Regions from separate parts of the Homo sapiens genome. Here all the other regions are linked to region 3. Evidence: promoter capture Hi-C in 16 types of primary human blood cells and fetal thymus (Javierre and others, 2016). All regions are on one chromosome and are shown on one strand. Each heading gives the region's core, a stretch centred on a gene start or on the middle of the fragment in contact. The rest is flanking DNA. Distances are from core to core; before and after follow the strand shown. Region 1 overlaps MAD2L1-DT (MAD2L1 divergent transcript). Region 2 overlaps MAD2L1 (mitotic arrest deficient 2 like 1). Region 3 holds the start of SEC24D (SEC24 homolog D, COPII component).

Evidence for each region. The method cuts DNA at HindIII sites, captures the fragments that hold promoters and counts their contacts. A CHiCAGO score of 5 or more calls a contact.
Region 1: a fragment that was not itself captured here is called in contact with the fragment with the promoter of SEC24D in region 3 in 6 of 17 cell types (total B cells, naive B cells, total CD8 T cells and 3 more); the score reaches 14.5 in total B cells.
Region 2: a fragment that was not itself captured here is called in contact with the fragment with the promoter of SEC24D in region 3 in 10 of 17 cell types (naive CD8 T cells, naive B cells, total B cells and 7 more); the score reaches 11.0 in naive CD8 T cells.

The regions. Positions count from the first base shown.
Region 1 is chr4:120,075,686-120,078,657 of GRCh38, forward strand. The region is part of intron 1 of MAD2L1-DT (MAD2L1 divergent transcript); the gene reads left to right. Among named protein-coding and RNA genes, the nearest start is that of MAD2L1-DT, 10 kb to the left of the region's middle. The HindIII fragment of the contact is 1,023 bases long and covers 774-1,796 here.
Region 2 is chr4:120,058,761-120,061,895 of GRCh38, forward strand. MAD2L1 (mitotic arrest deficient 2 like 1) reads right to left here. Exons shown (of 5, transcript NM_002358.4): 4 at 2,114-2,217; 5 at 1-1,530. The coding sequence ends at 1,358. Among named protein-coding and RNA genes, the nearest start is that of MAD2L1, 6.5 kb to the right of the region's middle. The HindIII fragment of the contact is 5,099 bases long and covers 1-3,135 here.
Region 3 is chr4:118,834,366-118,837,771 of GRCh38, forward strand. SEC24D (SEC24 homolog D, COPII component) reads right to left here and starts at 1,761. Exons shown (of 23, transcript NM_014822.4): 1 at 1,576-1,761. RefSeq lists enhancers at 1,117-2,008, 1,629-1,923 and a silencer at 1,435-1,924. The HindIII fragment of the contact is 6,235 bases long and covers 1-3,406 here.

The DNA.
Region 1 (2,972 bases), core at 35-2,534, 1.2 Mb after region 3:
CACCTGTAGTCCCAGCTACTCAGGAGGCTGAGGCAGGAGAATGGCATGAACCCGGGAGCTGGAGCTTGCAGTGAGCTGAGATCGTGCCACTGCATTCCAACCTGGGTGACAGAGCGAGACTCCATCTCAAAAAAAAAAAAAAGTTTATTCAAACGTGCTCCTTCCATAACATGAGTGTCTTTTGAAAAACGGAATGGAAGAATGTTAATTTTTCTGAAGTTCTTGTTAGCACAGTACTGCAAAGAGAAAGAGCCAGTAAATCTGGCACAGCTGACTTGCATTTCCTCAGGGTACCAATCATGGCCTATGACTCCCTTTTTTTTCTAAATTTTTAAAACTGACAAATAATAATTGTACATATTTACAGGGTGCATAGTGATGTTGTGGTCTATACAATGTATAGTGATCAGATCAGGGTAATCAGCCTATCTATCATCTTAAACATTTATAATTTCTTTGTGTTTCAAACATTCAATATCCCCATTCTAGCTATTTTAAACTATTATTAACTTGTAGGATGTAGTCATCCTACAAGTGCTGTAGAACACTAGAACTTACTCTTATCTAGCTGTAATTTTGTTTCCTTTAACAAATCTCTCTGTCCTCTCTTTCCGCCTACCCTTCCCAGCCTCTAGTATTCTCTGTTGTACTTTTTACTTCTGTGGGATCAACTTTTTTAACTTCCACATATGAGTAAGAACGTGACCTTCTGACATGGAGACTGTGTGAGTGTGCAATGTCAGTCCATTTTTTGAAATCCATTTTTTTAGTAAAGCTTATTTTCCTAGGTTAAAACATAAATTAAATAGAAGTTGTAACATTCCTTCCTATACTCCCAAAAGGATTGTTTTTTGCATATATTCCACTTTGGAAGCCACTGATTTTGAGGATGTTTGCAGAAACCTTATTGATTAGGGGATGAGGCACCTGAGTTGGGAATAGTAGTGTTCCGTGCTTGTCCTCTCTTCTAGGTAAATATGGAATAGACCTAGTTAGGATGGCTGACCTGCATGCCTATGTGGAAATTTGAAGTATCATTCTTTTTTTTTTTTTTTTTTTTCTGAGACAGAGTCTTGCTCTTTCACCCAGGCTGGAGCGTGGTGGCACCATCTCAGCTCACTGCAATCATCGCCTCTCAGGTTCAAGTGATCCTTATTCCTCAGCCTCCTGTGTAGCTGGGATTACATGCATGCACCATCACACCCAGCTAATTGTTGTATTTTTTAGTGGAGACAAGGTTTCGATGGTCTTGCACTCCTGGCCTCAAGTGATTCACCCACCTTGACCTCCCAAAGTGCTGGGATTACAAGTGTGAGCCGCCATGCCCGGCGTGAGCTATCATTCTTTATAATGGACTTTGCAGAACAATCCTGTAAGGAAAATACATTCTTATTGGGAAGGAGTGCTCCAGACTCTTGAACCCCATCTATTTACCACTGCCCAAAGCACAGAATAAAAGCCATCTTAGGGGTTTCAACAAATCCTGTCATAAAAGTCCACTTAGATCACATAAAAAAAAAAAACTTTATTACTGGTTGCATAATGAGGGAGTGTCATGGTCTTGTCTAAAAGAAGCAGGAATCTCCAAGCAATCTACCAACAGCAGAGATCACATGCAGATATGTCAAAAAAAGATGTTAGCCTAGCATGTTCCAGAGAAACTTCTTAGAAGCAGACTATCTGGACAATTTAAGAAGAATTATATAGGAGTTATTTTCCTTATCGGTAAAATGGATGTAACAATAGTACTTGTCACATATAATTTTTCTGAGTATTACATGAGATAATTTAAATGAAGCTTTGGCTTAATGCTAATATGTTATTGTTATTGTTTTATTATTATATTGTTACTGTTGTTGTTAATAAGACAGCTTTTCACCACTTTTCCACGCACCTTTCCTGGGTTGGTACATGTTTAGTTTAGCATAACTAAAGGAGGCTTTAGATAATACAACTTAAGGCACAGATGAGATAGAAACTCTTATAACATATATAATAATGATAGCCAACATTATTAACCACATACTATCTGCCAGGCACATTTCTATGTGCTTTACAAGAATCATTTTATTTAATCCCTCATTAGCTCAAGAGTTAGATACTACTATTACCTGAATTAAGTTACAGAAGGAAGTTGAATAATTTAGCTAAGGTCACCCAGCTAGGAGAACTGGAGTCAAATCCAAGCAATCTAGATGGTACCAGAATATGAATCCTGAAAGCATCAAAGATCTGACTATATTTTAGATAACTCTAATTTGAGGCAAACTATAGTGGGTCCTTAATATTCCTCCATCCTTGCTATGTAACTCCTGAGACCCATTCAGCAATGGAAACCAATGGAGCTGAATGGCTGGAAAGTCACAGAATTGGAACAAGGAAAATAATCCAAAAGTGGAAGAAAAGAGTCCAAAACTGGAGGAAAAGAAACAAGAGGTAGGATCCAGGGTGCAATACTGGCTCATCTGGCTAAGAGTGGATGGCCAAAAGGGGTACCCTGACTAGGGCTGCAAAAACAGGAATTTTTTAAAAATTTTGTGCTTAAAAGATCTTGTCAATTTTCTACTTAAAAGATCTTCAGTGAACTAAGAGGAGGCATTAAACAAATATTCTGGCCAAGGGATAGAATGGCATTTGAAATAGCCTACTCTTTGTCCTGCCAATTTTATTGATAGCTCAGACAAAAGGAAATGAGAATATGCAATACAGCAGGAATGTAAAAAGATGACAAATTTGAGAGACATTTTAAAAATGTGTTGAGATGTGTTTGGTTGTACTCTGAAGAACAGCCTGGGTTTTGGGGGATCATGGTGTGGAGCTGTTATACATGGAGATGATATAGATAAGTTTGTGGCATTCGATTCATTTTCCTTCAAGTGGTTTTAGGCCAGGCAAAAAAAAAAAATTTTTTTTGAGGTAATAGCTAATAAAATGACACATTGAGGAAGAAGAGGCAGTGAAGGAAACTCAGA
Region 2 (3,135 bases), core at 327-2,826, 1.2 Mb after region 3:
ATATGAAGAGTCTACAAATTTGTCACTGAGAACCCAGAAACTGCCACTGATCCACAGTATTTGCTCAATATGTAATTTCTGAATGAACAGATTCAGACTATGTGCAATTACTTAAAAATAGTGAAGGTTAAATAAGTTAATACACATAAAGAACTTAGTGTCTAATAATAAACATTAATAAACTGAATTTTTACAAAATGAGGTCAGATTTAGATTAGAGATTAGAGAAGACTTTACAAATCTGCCTTAAACTGACCTTGGAAAAACAGGTGAGAACTGGATAGAAAGCATGTACCAGATGAGGGTATTAATGAAAGCACAGGAATAAGCATAGTATTTAAGTATATAAGGAAAAGTAGGCTGACAATAAGGCTAAGAGTATAGTAAAGTACTAAAATCAACACTTGTTCAACTGGAATTGTTGGACTAATTCCAAAGGACATTTATCTTTTCACAATGATGAAGTAATAGCCTTAAGTCTATTGCTATGAGATGAACAGGATGTGATCAAAGTTTATCCATTAGATTGAAGACACCTCAAGACTCACTCAACTTTGGACCCTTAAGTTCTATAACTTCGTAGGAACAAGAATTCATTAGCTATGCTGAATCAATTCTAATTACCATTTAACTATATCAACACCAAACCAGTATCAAAATGTTTTAAGACAAATTTAAAACAAACTTAACTTTATTTCCTCACTTTCACTTAAAACTTGATTTTATAAAACACATGAAAAAACATTTTTAAGAGTTCTGTATCACAGAACATTAAACAGTACAAATATCCATTGCTTCATAGGTTCAAGTTACATAAATTAAAGTCAAATAATTGGAAACTGATTCAATAGGGAAAACTATACATGAAATGAAGGTCAAAAGGAGCTATACAGCAATATTTCATTGTTTATAGATTATGAGTTACTTTCAGGACCTTAACAAAGATTCTGAATATTTAGACTTCCTTTGTTGTATTTTATACTTAAATATCTCCCTACCTATACTGAGTCAAACTACTTGACCAAAACATCTGATTTAGGAAAGCATCTAGCTTTATAGCACAAGTTTTTCCATCTACAGTTACTATCTTCAAAGGAATATACATCACAATGTTGACAAAAAAACCTCCTGGTTCCTTTTGAACAATGTGCAATAAATTCATGATGTTAACTCCATGGTAAGTCAAATAGGTACCAAAAAAATAAAAGGAACAATTACACACAGTTCAGTAAGTATCATTTTGGTTTTCTCCATGTAAAAATTAACCAATGAAATAAAACATATCAACTATAGATGACTTGATTTCAGGAAAACCACATTTCAAAATTACAATTACATTATTTTCCTCATGTCATCCTCAGTCATTGACAGGAATTTTGTAGGCCACCATGCTATTTACTTTGTGGATTGTAGTAGTAAATGAACGAAGGCGGACTTCCTCAGAATTGGTAATAAACTGTGGTCCCGACTCTTCCCATTTTTCAGGTACAACCAAATCTTTGTCTGTATAAATCAGCAGATCAAATGAACCTAAATTGGGGATAAGATCATTGAAGTATATTATTTTCTAAAAGTAAAACTAATCTTGCTGCCTCTCTTCTATTTTGAACCACTCACTGCTGGAAAAGGTCATTTGGCTTGGTCTCCAATCACTAGTTAATTTATTTTGCTCAATGAACATTTATTTCAGTAAAGAAAATATTGTATCTAACTTCCGTGCAATTTAGTGATTGTGTTCAAGTAACCCTTATCTTATTTAATAATGGTCCCAAAGCACAAGAATAGTGATGCCAGCATATTGTTATAATTGTTCCAGTTTATTATTAACTCTTACTATGCTTAATTTACATATTAAATTTTATCATAGGTATGTATGCATAAGAAAAAAACATTATATAGGGTTCATACTATCCATGGTTTCAGGTATTCACTGTGGGTCTCCCTGTGGAAAGGGAGACTACGATACATTACTTTTGCATGATAATGTTTTTCCTTCAATTTATATTACATAAATCTGATAAATAAGACAAAATTTAATAAAGGGGTGATTACGGCAGTAGCTTAGTCTTTTTGCCAATCAATTTAATTCAACAAGAAGTTGTATAATACTTACAAGAAACTTCCAACAGTGGCAGAAATGTCACCGTAGCTGTGATCTGTCTGATCACTGAACGGATTTCATCCTGGATAGCTTTCTGAGACTTTTCTCTGGGTGCACTGTCAAAAAAAAATCAAATCAATTAATTCATTTCAGGTCTTAACAAATTATTTCAAACATAGTGGTTAGATTATTTATCTGATTAAATGCTCTCAACATCAAATAAGCAGGGCTTATTTGAGAAAGGAGGTTTGTAAAAAATGTGAGTGAAAGTATCCTTCAGACCTACAACCTAGTAGGCACAACATTCATCCTTATTACTTCATTTATCCTGCCAGTCATCTTTTAGAGCTGGTCTTAGTGTCAGGTCATTTAGTATCAGATGACTAGAAAATTTGCCAATCACTTCAAGTTCAGGAAACTTCAGCATCTCTTGAAATAAAAATAAGTGATATCTAAAATATGTATTGGTATAATCATTTCAGCATTTTTAGTAATGCCTAAATGTCTAATTTCCTATTTTCTCAAATAAAACATTAAATTGTATATCAAATTATTTTATAAGCTAAAAATTTCCTAAAATACACCAAAGCCTTCAGAAGCAAACTACATTTCACTATAAGAAATGGTTCTCAGTTTATAGAAGAGCATGCCTAGGACAATGCATTTCTCTTCCAGGGAGTCTGGAACCTTCAGAAATTTATGAAGTGTCTTAGGAAGTAGATGGCATTAAAGGAAGTACAGCAGAGCTACATCTTAAATTGTGTGAGTCTAATATCATTCCTTATAGTTAAAAATATCTTAGAACAATTATTAAATGGTTCATCTAGTATATCATGTGTAGTTTTGTATATATCACCATAAATACTGTTTGAAAACTACTGATTTAGACTAAAGGCAATTATGTTAAAATTATATTATATATACAAATCAATGATATGCTAAACTGAGCACAATTCTTTTCCATAGGTGACTGAGGATATCTTAGAAAATATAAATTAGAAACAAACTATATTTTATATAAAACTAGTTCAATA
Region 3 (3,406 bases), core at 511-3,010:
TTAAATCATATCACATCTCTAAGAACATATGCACCTATATTTAGGGGACTAAGGAAAAAAAGTGTAATTTTGTAAGTGTGTAGGCACACACATCACAAATATAACAGACTCATCTTGATTTTTTTTAAATCTTGATTCTAATCAGAACCCAAATTTGCTTTAAATTTTCTATTTTTTCCAGGTTTTAACAAAATAAGAGATATTTCATAGGACTGATGATTTAAAAAAAAAAATTAAATACGACAGAAAATGCTTTGAATGCAAGAGAAGTGGGTTTCCATTCTATGTCTGCCATACTTAACTGTGTGACATGGAATGAGCTGAAGAACCTCTCTAAGCCTCAGTTCCTTCTTTTAGAAAATGAAGCCTTTCCAGATTTCCACTGATTCTACAATTTATCTCCAGTTTATTTGCCCCATACAAGCATATTCTTCCTTTTGTTCTTTTATTTGCTACAATTTAAGATAAGAGATCAGTGATACCTGCTAAGACTTAGAATCTGTCTATATTCAAGAAATAACATTTCAAATTAAAAATTTGAAGCCTAAAATTTGTGATTTGATTTTGTTTCCATATTAAACTATAAGTTTCCAAAATAAAAGCAACCATGTAAAAATATTATGAGATCATTTCCTTCTCCTGGGAAGGGGAGAACTGAAAAAGAGGAGAGAGGCAGGCAAAGGCCTTCTGGTCCACTTTGTTTCTGACAACCCCTTTTTCCTCCTCCCACTTAGCAGAGAGAGACGTGGCAGCCTGAGCGCTGGTCAAGCTCATCCAACCAAGAGCACTTAGGAAGTCGGCACGAACACACCTAAGTAGCAGCCTGTTGCTGAGTGACAGAAAAGAGAGGCTGAGATGGTCACTCCAAAGAACAGGAAGCAGCCAGTTCCCTCTGAACTGGTCCTCAGAGGAATCAGCTTCCTCACGCAACCCAGTTTGCCACGTCAAACTTCCTCACACAGAGCACCAAGTTAAAGAAACCTGACTCAGCTTCAAGCGGCGACACGGCAGAAAGCCACTTGGTATAAGCAGGCCTAGGATCAAAATCTGGGGAGCCCCAACCCCAGAACGGCCCCCTGGCTCACTGTCACCCAGCAACTCTAGCCAAGGTGCACTTCTAACCCTGGAACAAGTTCGTATTTGGCCAGATCAGTTTCACTATTCGGATGTCCCGAGGCTTCAAGATATAGTTGCCATTTTTACCATGAATATTTCTAACATTTCCTTCCTTCAAAAAAGGAAATTAAGTTGATAAGGAGATGAGAAAACCGCTGGCAATGACACTCGAATGGTGGCCACTGAGGATCCTAACAAGGCAGTTCCTGCATCCCAAGGCAAAAGGTGGGGGCGGGTAAAAAATGCCCACGCCCACCTCCTGCTCCCCCATCCCGCCGGCCCCACTATTAAACTGCACTAGAAGGCTAAAGAACAAAGAATGAGTTCTCCTCCCGCCGCCACTGCCTCAGGTGAGCACCCGGCCTCCCGCCGCGTCCCCGGGCCGGGCGCCGCAACCCGCTCCGCTGTGCCTGGGCAGGGCTGTCCCGCATGAAGGCGTCCGCGGGTGGGAGGCTTTACCTGTTCCCGCTCCCGCACCCCGCGGGCTTCCGAGCGCTGGCGGCTCTGCGCCTAGTGCCGGCAGCCCTCGGTGGCCGGGCTCCCGCTGCGGTCGCTTCTCCCGCCGCGCCTCTTCCCCGGCCGGCGTCCCCTTAGCCTGGACTCACGCTCGGAGTTGCAGCTGGGCTGGGAACTGCCACGTCAAACCCTTTCTCGGCTGCGCGCCCCCAGCGCCGGGCTTGGACCAGCCGCCGCGCTCCCGCCTGCGCACGCGCACAGCCACCGGCCGCCGCGGGGCGGGGCCACCGGGCTGAGCCTGCGAGCGGCCGAGCGACCTCCCCCTTTTCGCTTTTTCCCTTTTTCCGGTTTTTTGTTTTTTGGTTTTCTTTTTCCCGTCTTTTCTTTCCCCTCCCCCTACAGGTCAAAGCCTTTAACGTCGTGGCTAAATCAGAACCGTATTTTCTCGGCGCAGCCCCGCAGGAAGGAGGGGAGCGCGTTCATTCATTCTTCCATCAACAGGTTGCAGTTTCAGCTCTTCATTCATTACGTATTACTTAAATAACTAATAGTTCAGGTACTGCACTACCGTTACATACGGGAAAGTACACGATCTGGACCTAGGGGAGATTACCGTTTAAAGGCGAATCTGGCACGTGTACACGCACATTTGATGACGTACCCGTGCAATGCACTACAGAGGAAGGAACGCCCAAAGCAGCCTGGCAACGTGTAACGCGGGAGGAGTGGGGGGTGGGGGAGATGTCCCAAAGGAAAAGTGTGGGAAGTGGGGTTTCCATTGATATTGGGGTTGTTAGCGTTGTGTATACTCCTTCTTCCGCATATTCCTTGTTTGTGAAGTAGGATGGCTGATCCCAGCCCCAAACAGGAATCTCTGCATGGAAAAGCACCCAGCGTTTAGCTCACCGTCCTGTGAGAAACAGCTCAGAAATAAAGGCAACCTATATGAGATCTGGAGCTTACCTCTCTATCTCACCCTAAAATCAGGACCATCTGGCTGGTTTCCTATCATCTTTCACTGCTAAATAGAAAGACATTCAGCCACTCCCAGGTTTGGTATAGCTACCACTTTGCTCAAACTTACAAAGTAAAAACCAGCCCGGTGTTGTTGTTTTTAACATGCACTTTCTTCCCGGCTACAAGAAAGCCACTTGACAAATACCTTTACTGATGAACTGCCTAGGTAAAAACGTACATGGGGATGTTGCTACTCCCGAAATGCTACATGAATTGTGCAGGAATTTTAAGTCATTTTAGCAGTAAAGATATATGGTCCATTTATCCCACTCTTAAAAGTTTTTAAGGCATGGGGCAAGGCACAGTGGCTCACACCTGTTATCCCAGCACTTTGGGAGGCCAAGCAGGGAGGATTGCTTGAGGCCAGGAGGCAGTGAGCTATGATCACACCACTGCGTTCCAGCGTGGGCAACAGAGTGAGACCCTGTCTCAAGAAAAAGAAAAAAAGATTTTAAGGTAAGATATCTGGCCTACATCCAGCTTCAACACTGATCAGGTTTGAAAACCCACATTGAAATTTTTGTTTTAAATTGTTTCTTGTATTCTCAATGTGATGAAAATGTTCAGTGGAAGTTTAGGAAGTTTTGGCCGGTGTTGAAGCAGTACAGCTTGTAAAAGCAGTGAAAGAACTTGTCATATAACAGCTACATTACAAGGAGCGAGTGAAGCTATGATACAAAGATAGGAGAGAGTAAAGTCAGAAACAGTCACACCATGTGATGACCTGCTTGACTTGTTACCCCTATAAAACCACTACTTTTGAATTGTAAATACATCCTCACCTCCTGCTCAGGTACCAAACTTGTCTGAAACCAGG